3 separate regions of the Homo sapiens genome follow, and all the other regions are linked to region 1. The links are contacts of gene promoters, found by promoter capture Hi-C in blood cells and fetal thymus (Javierre and others, 2016). All regions are on one chromosome and are shown on one strand. The core of a region is centred on a gene start or on the middle of the fragment in contact, and the rest is flanking DNA. Distances in the headings are between cores, read along the strand shown. Region 1 holds the start of GOT1L1 (glutamic-oxaloacetic transaminase 1 like 1). Region 2 overlaps PLPBP (pyridoxal phosphate binding protein). Region 3 overlaps ADGRA2 (adhesion G protein-coupled receptor A2).

Evidence for each region. The method cuts DNA at HindIII sites, captures the fragments that hold promoters and counts their contacts. A CHiCAGO score of 5 or more calls a contact.
Region 2: a fragment that was not itself captured here is called in contact with the fragment with the promoter of GOT1L1 in region 1 in 1 of 17 cell types (M2 macrophages); the score reaches 5.5 in M2 macrophages.
Region 3: a fragment that was not itself captured here is called in contact with the fragment with the promoter of GOT1L1 in region 1 in 1 of 17 cell types (neutrophils); the score reaches 5.3 in neutrophils.

The regions. Positions count from the first base shown.
Region 1 is chr8:37,938,307-37,941,845 of GRCh38, forward strand. GOT1L1 (glutamic-oxaloacetic transaminase 1 like 1) reads right to left here and starts at 1,818. Exons shown (of 9, transcript NM_152413.3): 1 at 1,609-1,818; 2 at 394-575. The coding sequence starts at 1,723. RefSeq lists an enhancer at 1,324-1,840. The HindIII fragment of the contact is 5,963 bases long and covers 1,509-3,539 here.
Region 2 is chr8:37,774,561-37,778,099 of GRCh38, forward strand. PLPBP (pyridoxal phosphate binding protein) reads left to right here. Exons shown (of 8, transcript NM_007198.4): 6 at 779-921; 7 at 1,358-1,456; 8 at 3,413-3,539. Among named protein-coding and RNA genes, the nearest start is that of PLPBP, 14 kb to the left of the region's middle. The HindIII fragment of the contact is 2,826 bases long and covers 877-3,539 here.
Region 3 is chr8:37,809,163-37,812,701 of GRCh38, forward strand. The region is part of intron 1 of ADGRA2 (adhesion G protein-coupled receptor A2); the gene reads left to right. Among named protein-coding and RNA genes, the nearest start is that of ADGRA2, 14 kb to the left of the region's middle. RefSeq lists a silencer at 354-576. The HindIII fragment of the contact is 5,635 bases long and covers 1-3,539 here.

The DNA of each region.
Region 1 (3,539 bases), core at 568-3,067:
GAATTGCTTGAACCTGGGAGGTGGAGGTTGCAGTGAGCTGAGATGGCACCACTGCACTCTAGCCTGGGTGACAGAGTGAGACTCTGTCTCAAAAAATATATATAATAGGTTAAAAAATAAAACAGTAATGGGAATACTAACACCACCTCCAATTCAGATCATTCCTGTCTTGAAAGAGCTTTCAAATCAGCAGTGTGAGCAGGTGGGAATACCACTGGACTGAGATTCCGATCCTGACTCGATGGCTAAGGACTTGTGGACTCTCTGAGCCTCAGGTATCTCTTTTATCAATACCAGGGGGCCCTCCGAGGTCCCCTTCGGGTTTAAGGTTGTGCAGACCCAGATCGCCACTCTCTGTGTCTAAATGAGCCAGGGGAGGGCCCACCTTCTCACCCTGTTCTCCACAATGGCTTGGCTGTGCTTTCCAAAGAGGAGTGCTAGAGAGGCCTGGATGAATGATTTCAGGCCCATGGTGGGCAAGTACTCATAATTCAGGGAGGGATCCTGTGAAATCTGTAGTCGAGTCTTCTGCACCACGAGAGAAACCCAGGGATGGCCTTCATTTGTCATGCAGACTGTGAGGAAAACCACAGAGGGAGCTCCAGATGCCTGGTTTGGGCCCCCAGGGCTGAGCTCTGCAGACAGCCTGCAAACAAATCTCTCCTGGACTCCATGGGGCTGTGGGAAGGTGCCTGTGAAAATACAACTTTCCCTTTTCTTTTCTCCTTGATGAAAAGAATATGCTGTTAGTGAATGTGTATTATTTTTGTCTTTTTAAAAAAGACAACTGAAACCTATGCCATTTTAAAGGTTAAAAATTATACAAGCCCAGGATTGGTGGCTCAGGCCTGTAATCCCAGCACTTCGGGAGGCTAAGGTGGGTGGATCACTTGAGTTCAGGAGTTCAAGATCAGCCTGGGCAACATGATGAAACCCTGTCTCTACAAAAAAATACAAAACAGCCAGACATGGTGACCAGCGCCTGTAGTCCCAGCTACTCAGGAGGCTGAGGCAAGAGGATGGTTTGAGCCCAGGAGGCAAAGGTGGCAGTGAGCTGAGATCTTGCCACTGCACTTCAGCCTGGGCAACAGAGTGAGGCCCTGTCTCAAGAAAAAAAAAAAAAAAATATATATATATATATATATATATATATATATATATATATATGCAAAATGAGAGTTATAGGTAGATGAAGCTAAATAAAGGTAACCCTGACTTTCACAGTGGTGAGCCCCAGTTGCATAGCAGAAAGCTCAATCTGGAGAACCATTCTTGGTTCAAGAACAGGAAGAGAAAGAGAAAGAGAGAGAGAGGAGGTAAGAATCTGAAGAAGTGTGGGATGGCCATGCAGGCCCCCAAGCATAGAGTTGTGGAAGAGGACATAGCTCTCACCAAATCCCTAGAAGCCCCCAGAGAAGGGCAGAGAGCATGGAATGACCTGGGACCTTATCTGCACTTTTCCCCACTGGGTAATTCTGTTAACAAGAAAAGATCTCTCCACCCACAGAAGCTTGGGCTGCACCCCTCCCCCTGCAGCAGGGAACACTGTCCTCCTAGAGGCAGTTACCATCACTTAAGTCTTATACTTCAGAACTGCTAGGCATCTACCTCTATAGGCTAAGAATATCTTGTTCGGGTAATCATCTTGTTTGTAGGTCTTTAACAAGCTGCCCTCTAGCTTGTGGGCGAGGGGCACATCCATGAACACTGAAAGGGTGGGCATAACTGAAACGAAACTGGAGCCAAGACTATGTGTCTCTGCTCCTGTGTTCCGCTTCTGCCCAGAAGTCTTCCTCCAAGGCTGGGCCGGGCAGTCCTGCCTCTTCCTGGAACCTTGGCAGCCCCAGTGCAGAGGCGCTGGACAACGGGTTGCCAGGGCAACAGAACCTCATGATCTTTGTGGTGGCGATCCACAGGGGCCACAGGAACATTCCAGGGTACTTGAGGAGAATCCCCTCAGACAGCGGGCAGGGCAGGATAACAATCTCCGGAATTCCCAAGCCCGTTTCCCTCACTCAATGCCTTCTCTTCTCTAGCCCCAGGTGGCTCAGTCCAAAGTAACAAGCCCACTCCTTAGATGACAGGGCAAGGATAATGGGAGATTACTTAACAGATACAATGTACATTGTTGGGGTTATGGATACCCTAAAAGCCCTGACTTCACCACTATGCGATGTATGCATCTAACAAAATTACACTTGTACTTCACACATTTATACAAATTAAAAAAAAAAAAAAGAAAGAAAGACATAGGGCAAGGCAGGCAGCCAATAAGCCAGATAGGGCTTCTCCTGCAGAAGCAAAAACCCCAGATCACACACCAATGCAAGTCGAGGCATTGATTTCCATTTTGCAAAGTGCCCCAGATTTCAAAAGGAATAAAAAGCAAACACTGTTTTCTTCCACAGTTGTTTTAATAAAGAATCCTATTATTAGAATATAATTGGCAACTCACTAAGCCAGTCCTATTTCTCTCAGTTATCTAGAGCCAAGACTTCTACATATGTTTGTTAAGTTTCTTTTTCTTTCTTTTTTTGGTTTTTTTTTTTTTTGAGATGGAGTCTCACTTTGTCGATAGTCTCGAACTCCTTGCCTCAGGTGATCTGCCTGCCTTGGCCTCCCAAACTGCTGGGATTACAGGCATGAGCCACCACACCTGGCCATTTGTTAAGTTTCAATGACAGCCAACTAGTAAGTATAGACAGCAGAGGCCAAGGGGAGAAAAGAGCCAGCCTCTATAGAGTCAGTCTGCATATTGCTTGCTTTCTTTTCCTTTTGATGTTTAATGACTCTCTCTTTTTTTTTTTTTTTTTTTTTGAGACAGAGTCTCGCTCTTGCTGCCCACATTGGAGTGCAGTGGTGTGATCTCGGCTCACTGCAACCTCTGCTTCCCAGGTTCAAGAGATTCTCCTGCCTCAGCCTCCCGAGTAGCTGGGATTACAGGCATGCGCCACCACACCCAACTAATTTTGTATTTTTAGTAGAGAGGGGGATTTCTCCATGTTGATCAGGCTGGTCTCAAACTCCAGACCTCAGGTGATCTGCCCACCTGGGCCTCCCAAAGTGCTGGGATTACAGGCGTGAGTCACTGCGCCCGGCTTTTTTTTGTATTTTTAGTAGAGACAGGGTTTCACCACGTTGGCCAGACTGGTCTCAAACTCCTGACCTCAAGTGATCTGCCTACCTCAGCCTCCCAAAGTGTTAGGATTACAGGCATGAGCCACCACACCCAGCCTGATGTTAAATAACTCTTTAAATGATTGTTGCAAACACTGTTGATGTCTCACCCAGAAGGCCTTCACCACCAATGTGCCCGGCCCCAGCTGCTGCTTCGCTGGTGGACAAGGCTTATATGCCTGTGTTCTCTGGAGAATTGTGCTTGGCTGGCAGGAGTCAGCTAGCCTAGAAACCACCTGGAGGTTTCACCCCCACTGACAGGGGTAGCCAATGACTGCCTGATTTAGGCATACAAAGGGTCAGCCACAGCCAGGCATGGTGGCTCACACCTGCAATCCTAGTGCTTTGGGAGACTGAGGCGG
Region 2 (3,539 bases), core at 1,040-3,539, 160 kb before region 1:
CCATCAAAGCACCAGTATTCACCAAATCTTAGTATGCAGGAACACAGTAGAGGCATCTGTTTTCTAGATAACGTCCTAGAGTCAGACTACCTGGGTTTAAATCCCAATTATCAATAGAAATCTGAAATCAACTATAGGTCAAGTCTTTATTGTATCATTTCTTGATAATTAGCTATAATATGCCCTATTTAAAGACTGAAGTAAATGTTACTAGTATCTCCGCCTAATAAATGGGGGCAAGACAATATCAATAGCTCTTATAACTGTATAACAAATAATTGCTTGCTGCAGATTTCTCTTCCAGTTGTTAATTAGAAAGTTCAGTTAAACTTTGCTAATATATAGCCAAAAATATTTAACATGTACTTTATACTAAATTTTTTGCAACTCCATTAAATTAATAAAACTATAAAAATTCTTGATTTAGAAAAGTAATTCTCAGGTTCATCTGGCATTTTGGCAATGCAAATCTTCCTGGTATCCCAAAAAAGCAAGATTTTTTCTTTTCCATGTCTCCTAGCTGTTTTCAGCTGAAATCCTGAGATGGAGGAAAGAGAATCCAACTGATAGTTCTTTTCTTGAGAAATTTAGAACCTGACCAGAAGCAGAGCAACATAGAAAACCCCAAGTATAAAGTTACTCTTTAGGACTTGAGGCTCTTTCAAGAGGTTCTCTTGTTGGGGGTCACCTCTTCTGTCGTAAGGAAGGGAGGAAAATGGAGCCTTCCTCTGGCCATTTACCCTTGCAGTATACCTGTTTTCTGTTTCTTTTCTTGAAGGTAAACATGGCCTTCCACCTTCAGAGACCATAGCCATCGTGGAGCACATAAACGCCAAGTGTCCTAACCTGGAGTTTGTGGGGCTGATGACCATAGGAAGCTTTGGGCATGATCTTAGTCAAGGACCAAATCCAGACTTCCAGGTACTGGGGGGTCGGGGAGATTGCTCGTGTGCTAAAGAAGCAGGGTGCTGGAGTGCTATTGCAGGGCTGGCTGCAGTGGGGATTGCAGAGTCATCCCAGACACTGCCTGTTGAGTGTTCTAGCCCTCTTTTGAACTCTTCTCAGAAGGAAAAGGGAAGAACAGGTTTCCAAAGCCCCACAAACCTTTTTCAACTCAACTTGAACTTGGCTAAAACATAGTCTTTAGAGAATATGAGATTTCTTCCTCTCCAGTGACTAATAGTTTTCTCGAAAGTGGGATAGTTTGCAAAAAACCCTTTCAGTAACGTCTGGCAATTTTGGCAGGCCTTGAAATCATAAGGAATACATAACCGTTGTCAGAGAAGTTCAGATTCAGACACTTTTGGGCATCGTTAGAGAAGGCAGGAGTAAAATAGGTGTCATCTCTTTCTGTCAGCTGTTATTGTCCCTCCGGGAGGAGCTGTGTAAAAAGCTGAACATCCCTGCTGACCAGGTTGAGCTGAGCATGGGCATGTCCGCGGATTTCCAGCATGCGGTGAGTGTCCTGCCAGTGCCCTGTCTGCCTCGAGGGGTGGGGGTAGGGGGTCTGAGAGGCTGACACAAGAGCAGATCTTTGCTGTAGAAGCCTTGGAAATGCCTTGGGATGGCAGTAAGGTACCCAGTGTCAGCTATTCCAGCATCTCCCATTCCCCATGCCCTTTCTTTTTTGAAAAGAGCCAGGTGCGGTGGCGCACGCCTGTAATCCCAGCACTTTGGGAGGCCGAGCCGGGCAGATCACGAGGTCAGGAGTTCGAGACCAGCCTGACCAACATGGTGAAACCCCGTCTCTCCTAAAAATACAAAAATTAGCTGGGCGTGGTGGCGCACGCCTGTAATCCCAGCTACTCAGGAGGCTGAGGCAGGAGAATCGCTTGAACCCAGGAGGCGGAGATTGCAGTGAGCCGAGGTCGCGCCACTGCACTCCAGCCTGGCTGGCAACAGAGCGAGACTCCATCTCAAAAAAAAAAAAAAAAAAAAAAAAACAAAAGAAAGAAAAGAAATGTATAGAAATTATAGCCTGACATCTGAACTTTTAAAACAAAATATAATTCCGTAAGTGTAATCTAAAGGAAATAAGAAATTAATTATAATTATAATTTCATAAATTATAAACATAATTCCATAAGTGTAGTCTAAAGGAAAATAAGAAATTAAGCTATAATTTTTGGAAAGGCATTTCATTACGTAAGTGCGTGGGCATGGCTGTATCACAGCAAATCACGATGAAGCAGCCTAAGGCTTCATGTTTGTTTGTTTTTTTTTGGAGACTGAGTCTCGCTCTATTGCCCAGGCCGGAGTGCAGTGGCGCGATCTCAGCTCACTGTAACCTCCACCTCCCAGGTTCAAGTGATTCTCCTGCTTCAGCCTCCCAAGTAGCTGGGATTACAGGCGCCTGCCACAATGCCCAGCTAATTTTTGAATTTTTAGTTAAGACAGGGTTTCACCGTATTGGCCAGGCTGGTCTCGAACTCCTGACCTCAGGTAATCCACCCACCTAGGCCTCCCAAAGTGATGGGATTACAGGCATGAGCCACTGCACCCGTCCGAGGCTTAATCTTATGTGTAGATTCACCAACAATCTTATATGTACATCAACAGCTGTAAATATCAACTGATACAGGTGTGCTAGATTGGCAACGCAAATACATGATTTTCTGAAATAGCAAATAACTTGATAAAGTTTCAAAAATCAAAATATAAACTTGCATTCCTGGAAAATTGTATTTCTTAAAACAGTGCAAAAATACATTGCATTGATAAGTAAAATGGAATTTGATCAGATAATTATAAGGATATTTTTTTCATCTACCTGACCGTGGCACATTGGAGAGGTAGGTGGGCTGTGCTGTGTGGCTGCGTCTCACACTGGACGTCTAATGTCCTTGACCCCCTCCGAGCTGAGTGCCAGCCACACTCTCCAACCACTGGAAATCCAGAGAAACCCAACTTGTTTCCTATATATGCCCTCAGAGGCAATTTTACCTCTGAGGAGAACAATCATCCTGAAGCCATCTTCAGCTGTGTTATTATTCATAGAAGGCTCTGTTTTTGTTTTTTTTTGTTTTTTTTGAGATGGAGTTTCGCTCTTGTTGCCCAGGCTGGAGTGCAATGGCGCAACCTCTGCTCACCGCAACCTCCACCTCCTGGGTTCAAGCAATTCTCCTGCTTCAGCCTCCCGAGTAGCTGGGATTACAGGCATGTGCCACTATGCCCGGCTAATTTTGTATTTTTAATAGAGACAGGGTTTCTCCATGTTGGTCAGGCTGGTCTCAAACCCCTGATCTCGTGATCTGCCCACCTCGGCCTCCCAAAATGCTGGGATTACAGGCGTGAGCCACCACGCCCCGTCCATAGAAGGCTCTTGAGAGCCAGAATGGGGGCACAGCTTCAGCACTGGCTCCATTTTATTATTTTAAACCTGGTCCTCGATACCTTCTCTTTTTTCCCACAGGTTGAAGTAGGATCTACAAATGTCCGAATAGGAAGCACGATTTTTGGAGAGCGGGATTACTCAAAGAAACCCACCCCGGACAAGTGCGCAGCAGACGTGAAGGCCCCGCTGGAGGTGGCACAGGAGC
Region 3 (3,539 bases), core at 618-3,117, 130 kb before region 1:
GCGCATGCCTGTAGTCCTAGCTCCTGGGGAGGCCAAGGTGAGAGGATTGCTTGAGCTCAAGAGGTGGAGGCTGCAGTGATTTGTGATCATGCCACTGTACTCCAGCCTGGGCAATAGAGCGAAACTTGTCTCTCTTAAAAAAAAAAAAAAAGACCAGACCCCTGCACTATCTGTCTAAAACTGCCTGCCCTCCTCTCCCCAGATAGACCCACCACAAGGCACCCTCTGGAGAATAGAACCAGCAACTCAATGTCAATGGAGGCCCCTCTCTGGATAATCTAGGTCTAGAGTAAACTTCCTCAGACCTCTCCAGGTTGTTAAGGCCAAAAGATCCAACCCTGGGTATCTGAGGACTCGAATCACACAGCAATCTGCCTGAGGTCTTTCCAAGAGCTAGAAATTTGGCAAGAAGGGGGCCCCTTGGAGGAGAAGGATGAAAAGGCCTTTGCCTGGTGCCTGCATCTGCGAGTGGGTCAGAGGGTGGGGCATCAGGACCATGTTCTCTGCAGCAAGAAAATATCTCATTTCAAGACTTTCAGGGCTGGAGTTGGTGCTGGGCTAGCCAAACCGGAAGCGTGGGCTGCAGCTGCCCCCCACTCAACTCAGCCCTTGCCTCCCAGCACACACAGAGGCTGCCTCAGAGAGAGAGGGGTGGGTGGAGGGAAGAGAGAGAGAGGCCGAGACCGGGACTGCATGAAGTCTGGGCTCAGGGCAGCCTGGGGAGGGATGGGAGCCGGTCCCAGAGATAAGCTATTCTGGGCCAGAGGCTTGTCCTTGCCCTCCTCTGGGGTAGGTCCCCGATCTGTCGCTCTGCTGCCGCCCTGCACACTGACACCAGTGCCCGCAGCTGGTCTGAATTTAGGTGTGTTGGCAGAGAATAGAGTAGTAGGACATTCCAGAGTCCTAAGACTTTCTACCAAAATCAAAATGAAAGTATCTCATTAATAATTTTATATTGATTACATATAAAAATAACATTTTGGATACATTGAGTTAGATCATATATATATAAAAATATATATATATACACACACACACATATATTTTTAGAAACAGGGTCTCGCTAGGCTGGGTGAGGTGGCTCACGCCTGTAATCCCAGCACTTTAGGAAGATGAGGCGGGCGGATCATGAGATCAAGAGATCGAGACCATCCTGGCCAACATGGTGAAACCCCGTTTCTACTAAAAATACAAAAATTAGCTGGGTGTGGTGGCATGCACCTGTAGTCCCAGCTACTTGGGAGGCGGCAGTAGGAGAATCGCTTGAACCCAGGAGGCGGAGGTTGCAGTGAGCTGAGAGCATGCCACTGCACTCCAGCCTGGCAACAGAGCAAGGCTCTCTCTCTCAAAAAAAAAGAAAAGAAACAGGGTCTCGCTCAGGCTGGAGTGCAGTGGTGCAATCACAGCTCACTGCAGCCTCAAACTCCTGGGCTCAAGTGATCCTCTTGCCTCGTCCTCCCAAGTAGCTAGGACTACAGGCAGGCCACCACGTCTGGCTACTTTTTAAAAAATGTTTTATAGAGACAGGGTCTTGCTATGTTGCCCAGACTGGTCTTGAACTCCTGGCTTCAAGCAATTCTCCTGACTCAGCTTTCCAAAGCACTGGGATTGCAGGCATGAGCCACTGCACCAGGCCTAAATAACATATGTTCTCAAAATGAACTTTTAGGCTGGGCGCGGTGGCCGTATCATGCCTGTAATCCCAGCACTTTGGGAGGCCGAGGCGAGTGGATCATGAGGTCAGGAGATCAAGACCATCCTGGCTAACATAGTGAAACCCCGTCTCTACTAAAAAAAAAATACAAAAAAATTAGGGTGGCGGGTGCCTGTAGTCCCGGCTACTCAAAAGGCTGAGGCAGGAGAATGGCGTGAAGCCGGGAGGCGGAGCTTGCAGTGAGCCGAGATCACGCCACTGCACTGCAGACTGGGCAACAGAGCAAGACTCTGTCTCAAAAACAAAAAAAAAAAAAAAAAAAAAGAACTTTTATACTGTGTGTGTGTGTGTGTTTTTTTTTTTTTTTTTTGAGACGGAGTTTCACTCTTGTCACCCAGGCTGGAGTGCAATAGCGCGTTCTCGGCTCACTGCAACCTCCGCCTCTTGGGTTCAAGAGATTCTCCTGCCTCAGCCTCCCAAGTGGCTGGGATTACAGGCGCCTGCCACCACGCCTGGCTAATTTTTTTGTATTTTTAGTAGAGATGGAGTTTCACCATGTTGGCCAGGCTGGTCTCCAACTCCTGACCTCAGGTGATCTGCCTGCCTCAGCCTCTCAAAGTGCTGGGATTACAGATGTAAACCACTGCACCCAGCCAACTTTTTTTTTTTTTTTTTTGGCAACAGAGTTTTTCTCTTGTTGCCCAGGCTGGAGTGCAATGGTGCAATCTCGGCTCACTGGAACCTCCGCCTCCCAGGTTCAAGTGATTCTCCTGCCTCAGCCCTCCAAGTAGCTGGGATTACAGGCATGCACCACCACGCCTGGCTAATTTTGTATTTTTGGTAGAGACGGGGTTTCGCCATGTTTGCCAGGCTGGTCTCAAACTCCTGACCACAGGTGATCTGCCCGCCTCAGCCTCCCAGAGTTCTGGGATTATAGGTGTGAGCCACCGCACCTGGCCCAACTTTTAAACTTTTTAAATGTGGCTACTAGGAAATTTAAAATGGGCTGGGTGCGGTAGTTTACACCTATAATCCCAGCACTCTGGGAGGCCGAGGCAGGCGGATCACCTGAAGTCAGGAGTTTGAGACCAACCTGGCCAACATGGTGAAACCCCGCCTCTACTAAAAAGATAAAAATTAGCCATGCATGGTGACGGGCACCTGTAATCCAGCTACTCTGGAGGCTGAGGCAGGAGAATCACTTGAACCCGAGAGGCGGAGGTTGCAGTGAGCCGACATCGTGCCATTGCACTCCAGTCTGGGCCACAGAATGAGACTCTCTTTCAGAAAAAAAAAGAAAAGAAAAGAAAATTTAAAATGACATGCACTTGCAATGGTGTTGTTGTTGTTGTTGTTGTTGTTGTTGTTGTTGTTGTCAGCTCTCTGTTAAAGAATTTGGGGTATTTGAAGTGGGTTAAAGGCTAAAGAGTTGGGAAAATGTGAGGAATCACCCCCACCAACACTACCTCTGCCCCACGCTGGGCAGAGCTCTCAAACTGAGATCTCAGGTTTTAATATTGAGGATTTGTGGCTGGGCGCGGTGGCTCACGCCTGTAATCCCAGCACTTTGGGAGCCCGAGGCGGGTGGATCACGAAGTCAGGAGATCGAGACCATCCTGGCTAACACGGTGAAACCCCGTCTCCACTAAAAATACAAAAAATTAGCCGGGCGTGGTGGCGGGCACCTGTAGTCCCAGCTACTCTGGAGGCTGAGGCAGGAGAATGGCGTGAGCCCGGGAGGCAGAGCTTGCAGTGGGCGGAGATTGCACCACTGCACTCCAGCCTGGGCAACAGAGCGAGACTCCGTCTCAAAAAAATAAAAATAAAAATATTGAGGATTTGGGAGTTGCAGAATTTTTTTTTTTTTTGAGACTAGGTCTCACTC